Regions from separate parts of the Homo sapiens genome. Here region 1 is linked to region 2. The links are contacts of gene promoters, found by promoter capture Hi-C in human tissues and cell types (Jung and others, 2019). All regions are on one chromosome and are shown on one strand. The core of a region is centred on a gene start or on the middle of the fragment in contact, and the rest is flanking DNA. Distances in the headings are between cores, read along the strand shown.

What was found. The method cuts DNA at HindIII sites, captures the fragments that hold promoters and counts their contacts. A contact is called where the count stands out against the background at its distance.
Region 1: a contact is called between a fragment that was not itself captured here and the fragment with the promoter of USP21 in region 2, in 1 of the 25 tissues and cell types used here (mesendoderm cells).

What each region holds. Positions count from the first base shown.
Region 1 is chr1:160,754,838-160,759,450 of GRCh38, reverse strand. No RefSeq gene overlaps it. Among named protein-coding and RNA genes, the nearest start is that of SLAMF7, 18 kb to the right of the region's middle. RefSeq lists a silencer at 2,290-2,359 and an enhancer at 3,910-3,959. The HindIII fragment of the contact is 5,235 bases long and covers 105-4,613 here.
Region 2 is chr1:161,158,068-161,161,470 of GRCh38, reverse strand. USP21 (ubiquitin specific peptidase 21) reads right to left here and starts at 1,971. Exons shown (of 14, transcript NM_001014443.3): 1 at 1,793-1,971; 2 at 965-1,105; 3 at 231-851. The coding sequence starts at 830. It overlaps UFC1 (ubiquitin-fold modifier conjugating enzyme 1), which reads right to left. Exons shown (of 6, transcript NM_016406.4): 5 at 3,260-3,350; 6 at 2,615-3,059. The coding sequence ends at 2,979. RefSeq lists a silencer at 1,743-1,892. The HindIII fragment of the contact is 22,288 bases long and covers 1-3,403 here.

The DNA of each region.
Region 1 (4,613 bases), core at 1,473-3,972, 400 kb after region 2:
TTGTTAATTTTACGTCATAATATTTAAGTTACAGCTATCAGGAGAAGAGTAAATATTACTCAAAGACTTTACCTCTTCTTCTGGGGAAGAGGCTAGTGTGTTTTCAGTTGCATGCAAGATTGTTGTATCATGCTAGATTGAATTATGGCCTTGTTATTCTCTTTATTTGGAGATTAAGTATGAGTTTTAGGAGATTGGTATGGGTGCCAAATTGACAAGGGGTGGACTCGTGATGATGAATTTCATGTGTCAACTTGACTGGGTTAAGGGATGCTCAGATAATTGGTAAAATATTATTTCTGGGTGTGTCTATGATGATGTTTCCAGAAGAGATTTATTTTTGAATCAGTAGACTGAGTAAAGATCACCCTTACCAATGTGGGTGAGCACCACCCAATCAGTTGAGGGCCTAAATAGAACAAAAAAGGCAGAGGAAGGCCAGATGCAGTGGTGCACACTTGTAATCCCAGCCACTTGGGAGGCTGAGGCAGGAGGATCACCTGAGCTCAGGAGTTTGAGGCCAGCCTGGGCAACATACAACTCCATGTCAAACAAAACAAAACAAAAAGGTAAAACAAACAAACAAACAAACAAAAAAAACCCCCAAAAAAACAAAAACAGAGAAAGAGCAAATTTGGTCTCTCTGCTTGAGCTGAGACATGCATTTTTCTTCTGCCCTTGGGCACTGGTAGTCTCATTTCTCTGGCTTTCTGGGTCATATTGAGAGTTACACCTTTGGCTCCCCAATTCTCAGGCCTTCCAAGTCATGAACTGAATTACTCCTCAGGCTTTCTTGGTTCTCCAGCCGCAGACAGAAGATCATGAGACCTCTTGGCCTTCCTAATGCGTGAGCCAATTCCTATAATAAGTCTCCTTTTATATATATTTACAAATAATCTATTGGTTCTATTTCTCAGGAAAACCATGAGTAATACAACCCCCTATATGTCTTATATGCCTTTATTTTCTTACCTACCATTTTAACTTGTAATGTCTGTTGATATCCCTGTCTCCCACTTGATTGTGAGCTCTTAGAAGTATGGGGAGCACATTGTAGACGCATAATAAGTTTTAATTGCAGGAAAAAATAACTTTTATAATTAGTAAAGACAAGCAGTACCAGCATTTATTTTAAAATAATAAATTTTAAATAAATTAATCAATTAATTAATACTGCCTAGAGCAGTAATACATATGAGCCGAACAAAACAAAACAAAACAAAACAAAACAAAACAACCCACAAAACCCAATTAGACAAAAGACAATCTTGGTCTCAACTACCTCATCTATAAAATGGTTATGTTTGTTATGAAGATTAAATAAATGTACATATGTATATACATGCACACATATATATATGTATTATTTAGAACAATGATTGGCAATTGTGACTGTACTAAACATTAAATATTATAAATGATCATGTTATGGTTTATCAACTCTTCCCTGTTGCTGGCTATGTTCTTGACAGATTGCAATAAAGAGTATGCTTAGGACTATAGTCAGAACTCCAAACATCTTTAAAGTCTGTCTACAAGTACATGAACTGAGGAGGCTGGAAGTTCCTCCTTCCATCTTCTTGGGATGAAATGAGAGGGAGGTGGGCCGGGCTGCATCCTGGGCTGCAGTCTGTGATAGGCTGTCCCCACCAGGAGGGTCTTGCTCATGGGTCTCCTCATGGAGGAGGATGATCCCCATGGGCCTGGATCCTCCTCATGGGCCTGGATATCTCTGAACATATGATGAACATTGCTTATGAAAAATTATTTGTAGGAAAATTGTGAGGCCTAAGAATGTTATTTTCTTTTAGTGATGGTCTTTGTTTGCTTCTGTAAGGTACTTGTGGGCACTCGTAAGCTTGGATCTCTTTAATCTAATACCAGTTTTGAGATTTTCTTGGCCCCATAGATGAATTAAAACTGGTGTACTTCTTGTTTACAAGAAGGATAAGTCTCCTAGGGTAAGTCTTTTGGGGTCCCAAGTCAAAAAGATGAGGGATTTACCAGTTCTCTAACCTTGGTAGCCCCAGACTCCAAACTTTGTCCTTCTAGTCCCAAGAGGCTATCAAAAGCAAAGGCCCATCTTCCCACCTCCTTTTCCAGATCAGCACACATTCCCAAGACAGTACTGAAAGCAGGAACCTCCTTATCCCTTAGATACCTCTTGAGAGCATCCTTCCCTCTCTCTGCATCCTACTATGCTTGTCCAACCTACCATCACCTCTCTCCTGGATAACGGTAAGAGCCTTCTGACTCAGTTTGCCTACATCCAGTCTTGACCCCCTACAATCTGTTTCCCATACTGCAACTAATGAAATTTTAAAAGTGCAACTCTCTCTGCTGGCCACACTGACTTTCGTTCTTTTAGGTCCTCTCACCACAAGGCCTTTGCACCTCTGGCTAGAAGGGTTTTATTTTCCCTTCCCACTTCTTGTAAGTAGCTCCTACTCATCTTCCGATCTCAGCTCAGTCTTCATCACTTTGGAGATACTGTCTCTGACCACAGGAAAATTTGCCATTCTTGGCTCCACACACCTCTCTTTCATAGCAGTCATCACTGCAACCATGTTATTTAAAGGATATTTGAGTGTTGGCCTCTGTCATTAGAATGTAAGCACCCTGAGGGCAGAGACCTCTGTTGTGGCCCACTGCTGTATTCCCTGAGTTCAGCATAATGTCCAGCACTTACTGGTGCTCAATAAGTACTGCTGAATGAATAAATGAATGAATGCATACATGATCAAATGAATGAGTGAAAGCCTTACTGAAATGGTACAGATACCTTCTTTACTTTCCACCAAGGTTTCAATGTTTACGAATTTGTTATTTGCACCTCACAAGTTGCAAACCACACAGTTCTGGAGGCTGCATGTAATGGGGCTATGAGGTGGTGTGACTTCTCACCCTGAAGAGCTGGTGGTTTCCTTTGCCTACTGGTTGAACTCATGAGGGGAAGCTTCTTTCTGCAACTAGCTTTGGGACAGAATTTATTGAGTGTCCAGAGACCAGATCTATTGGTCTCCCTAGGTCCTGTTTCAGTCACTGGTTTAAAAAACCCCAAAGTATGATTAACCCTAATTATTTATCATCTGAATGGGTTCTGAGGAGAGAGGGGAAGGCAGAACAGATGCATCCTCAGTCCCAGCATCCCCCTCTCCACGCCTCTGTCTTCACACACTGTGAAGCTCCCCTCAGCCTCCAGCAGCCCTCTCTGAGGGAAAGTCATCTTCTCCTCTGTCATTATGTGGAGGGTTTCTCCTTTCTCCCCACCCATTCTCACTCGAGGAGGTCTTTCCATCCTCCCCCACACCCTTACCATGAGGGTCTCAGACTTTCCCCTCAACCCCACGTAGTGAGTAGTGCCTCGTTTTTCTCACTGAGCACCTATTTAAAATTTCCTCTACTCTATTATGCAATACATACTTTCTCATTGAGGAATATTCAGAAAATGAATGAAAATAGGAAAAAACCAAGCCACCTAAGCTTTCACCCTCCCTAAACAACTGGTGTTACTATTTTGATGTTTTTTCTTCCAAATTTTTCCCTGTAGAGATTTTTTCTAAAACACAGCTGTAATCATATAGCACATTAAATTTGCATTCTACTTTTTATATTTGTGATGTCATAACATTTTCTAACTTGAAAACCCATAGTTGTTGTGTTGTTGTTGTTTTGTGAGTCAGAGTCTCACTCTGTTGCCCAGGCTGGAGTGCAGTAGCACAATTATAGCTCACTGCAGCCTCAACCTACCAGGCTCAAGCGACCCTCCCTCTTCAGCTCCTTCCTGAGTAGCTGGGACTACAGGCATGCACCACCATGCCTGGCTAATTTTTGTATTTTTTTGTAGAGATGGGGCTTTGCTAAGTTGCCTAGGGTGGTCTTGAACTCCTGAGGTCAAGTGATCCTCCTACTTCAGCCTCCCAAAGTGCTGGGATTACCGACATGAGCCACCACTCCTGGCCAACCCATAGTTTTTTTTAAACAATTTTTTTTTTTTTTTGAGACAGAATCTCACTCTATCATCCAGGCTGGAGTGCAGTGGTGCGATCTCGGCTCACTGCAACCTCCACCTCCCGGGTTCAAGAGATCCTCCTGCCTCAGCCTCCCAAGTAGCTGGGACCACAGGCACATGCTAAAAATTTGTTATTTTTAATTTTATTTTTGATTCAGAAGCTACATGTGTAGGTTACACAGGTATATTTCATGATGCTGAGTATAACCCATAATTCTTTTTTTGAGATGGAGTCTTGCTCTGTCGCCTAGGCTGGAGTGCAGTGGCGCGATCTTGGCTCACTGCAACCTCCCCGTCCTGGGTTCAAGCAATTCTCCTCCCTCTGCCTCCCAAGAAGCTGGGATTACAGGGGCTCACCACCATGCCCGGCTAATATTTTTTGTATTTTTAGTAGAGACGGGGTTTCATCATGTTGGCCAGGCTGTTCTTGAACTCCTGACCTCAAGTAATCCACCTGCCTCGGCCTCCCAAAGTGCTGGGATTACAGGCGTGAGCCACTGCTCCCGGCCTAACCCATAATTCTTAATGTCTATGTATGAACAGACCTTCACCTGTGGTGGTCAGTTTCTTTGGCAGTTTCCAGAATTTCACTATTGCAAAT
Region 2 (3,403 bases), core at 722-3,221:
GGTAATCCCCTGGGGACCGAAATGGCACACCATGCTGAAGAGTCACCAACAACCCAAAAAAGGGTCTAGGAGGCTCAAGGGTATTTAAGCAAGGGAGAGGCATGTCCAAACTGCTGTAATGAAGGGCTGAGAAAGGAACTTCAGGGAAATGGGGGACAGAAAAGGCAGAGGATGGCAGGAAAGCACAGAGGAACATGGGCATGAAGGCCATGTGTGTGGCAAGTCCTCACCATCTTGTCATCAGAGTAGAAAGGCTCAGAGGACCGGGCGGATATCATGTGGAAGGAGCCATGGGAAGCAGGGGGCTCTGTCCGTATGCTGAACAGGGTAGGGGGTCCAGGAAAGCCCCCTAGGCGGCGGAGAGAAGTGCTACGTCTCAAAGTGGGTGGCTCAGGCCGGAGGGCCAAGCGGCTCAGTGCAGCCCCAAGCTCTCCGGTGCCACGGTGCCCTCCCAAGGCAATCCCCATTGGACGCAAGTCCCCACTGCTCACAGACTTGGAACGGGCTAAGTTGGTCCGAGATGGGAGAGGCAAAGCCACTGTTGGGGGTGGTGAGCCAGGCAGGGGAACCCCATGATCTGCTCGAAGGGGGCCTCTGGGACGAGGGCCTGAGGTCCGTCCCCGTCCCAGCTCCAGTTTCTTGAGCCGTTCATCAGGCAGACCTGGCCGGGGAGGCAGAGGTCGTAACATGGGGTTTGGCCCAGAGGCTGGGTTTCTGCGCTCCTTGCTGCGGGCCCTGGGGGCAAATGGTAGCTTGGATCCCACTCGGGGCTGGATATTAACAGGTGGCTCTCGGGTACGGCCCAGGCGGTGCTCAGAGGCCTGGGGCATTGTGGACACCACAGGCTGGACCTGGGAGGAGAAGAGAGTGTCAGCATTTGAATATGGGGGGAAATGGGAACCCAGGCTGCTGTACTGAACCCTGCCACACTAATTTTCCCTTATTGCTTTGCCCCATTCCATACCCACAATCTTGCTGTCCTCTCATTTCCACATTAGGTGGTTGGCTCAGTCATCACCACTACCACATCAACGAAAGTGGGGAGCAGTATACGCACTGAGGGCAGGAACCAGATCTATCGAATCAGCCATCGTATCCCCAGTACCTGGCATCGTGTTTGGTACAAAGTAAATACTTAGTATCTATTGGGTAAACAAATGAATGAAAGATAAGCAGCCCATGGCTTTGACCCTTTCTATACTCCCGACCCCTCCCTGCAGAACACATCTTTACTGAAAAGCCAGTGATAACTCCTATCTCGGCTCTAACGTAACATGGGACCCCATACCCGGCTAGTAAAGTAGGATGTGCCTCGGGTCACTTAAGACCCTAGCCAAATGGTAGTGTAGATGCAAGAATAACAGCCCAAAAGACAGCCCTCCATCCTCGAATCCCTGCCTCTCTGGGCTGCAAATGAAGCAGACTATATGGGTGACTTACGATCCATTCCCTCCCCCACCTCCGACCTCCGACATGGTGTCGAGGTTCAGAAAGCAGTAGTCGGGGATGGAGGACGAACAACTCCTTGACCCTTAATCTCTGCACTTCTCCCACCACAGCAGGGCTTTAGCCGGGTCCGCCCCCCTCGAGGGCAGAAAGGCCGAGACCGCTGATTGGCTACGGAATCCGGCGGCGTATTCCCCGCGGTCCAGGGATGCTGTCCCTCCAGCCCAGTTCTCCCAGGCCCCGCCGGGCCCCACGCGCCTTTGTGGAGAGTGTCCTCTCGGGTCTGGAGCAGTCTTCCCTCTGCGCCCCCCCACACCCCGCCATGCCATAACGCCCCGGCCCGTACCTGTCCCCCAGTGAGGCGGCGGGAGAGGCCAGCCAGGGCCAGGCCCCAGTTCAGGGCCACCCCCTACTACCCCCGTGCAGCCCCCCCGTGGGCCCGGCTGCAGCTTTAGCCGCAGCCGTTGCCCAGATCGCTCCCGCCGCAGGGGCCGCCGCCATCTTTGTTGGTCCCGCCCGGCCACCGGCCACCGGCTTCACCGTCTCTCAAAGCGCCTGCGCATCCACACCCGAACTCCTCCCACCGGTCCCTTGGCGCTTGCGTGAGCCCGCCCCCACGGCTCCGCGATCGACACCATGGAAACGCAGCCAAGTTTAGGGTCGCTGGTTCTCAACGCTGCCCAGAGAGGTCTTTAATCCATGACTCCAAAGCAAGTCCCTGAGGTATAGGGTGCCGTCGCCCCATCCTATAGCCCATAGGGATGGAGATCTGACAGTCGTAGTATGGCCGCGAGGCTTACAGCACAGATCCTTCCCAAACAGCAGGGGCGCAAGTATGGCAAACTGCAGGCCTGGGTCCAGCCCGCAGACCAGTGGAGAAGCATCTAGCACTTCACAGAGGGCTGGGAAGATCCCTGGAGGGCGGGAAGTGCTGGTCCGGCAAAACCACTTCTTGCAGGCTAACACGGTAGGGCAAAGCATGGCTCACCACTAAAGGACAAAGGTAGATCTGAGCAGCAGGGGGAACAGTCAACATTTCATTCCCACTCCTGACCAGAGCATCCCCTATTTCCGACTCTTTCCCAACCCAACCCGGCGTAGCTGTTCATGTGCCTCAGGTTTCAGCCCACTTGCCCTCTGTTAACAGCTCCCAATGAGAACCACAGGCTACCAGAGGAAGCAGCTTTTATTGATGGGTTATCTCCAGAAACCAGAAAGACTATATGTACTCACTTTCAGTTACCCCCGTGCCTCCAGAATCGCATGTTGCTCCACCTGGGGGCGGATATAAATTACCTCTAGATTGTCCAAAGCCCAGTCTTTCCCTTCCCTGTGCAGCCTTAGAAACTAAGTAGCAGTACTGTTTGGTGTGTGTTTGTTTCTTCCCCAGCAATGCCTACTGCAGCTACTTAGTAACAACTAGAGGTGGAGGGTGTCCGGGGAAGCAGTTAGATGAGTTAAGTGTGATGCACAGGAAAATAGTATCGTAGCCTATCAAAGGTCCCTCTGCCCTGCCTCAGTGGCTTGATTCTTCATTGGTTGCATTTCTCTTTGTGTTGGATGACGCCCTTCTGAATCAGATCAGGGATTTCCACTGCCAGCCATGGACCCAGCTGCAATACAAGGAAAATCCTGTGAGATTACTACCAGTCAATGCTTCTTGTTCCATTAGAAGCTCCTTCCTGGAGACAGATTCTGGGGGAACATGCTTAAGGGACATCACTGTTATTCCTTTTATTCTTAGCTGCTTTTCTTGTACTGCTCAGGGCCTAAGTCCCTCTTTCTCCTTTTATGCCAAATACACAAAACTTACCCCCAGAGCCATGAGATGAGCTAGTCCAAATTTGGGCACATTCCTGGCCCACAAAGGTTTGAAATGATCCGTCAGGCATATTTTGCCACCCCTATGAGAGGGACATGAAGAAGGTGTTGACATGCAAAGTTTACCATAAAGCAC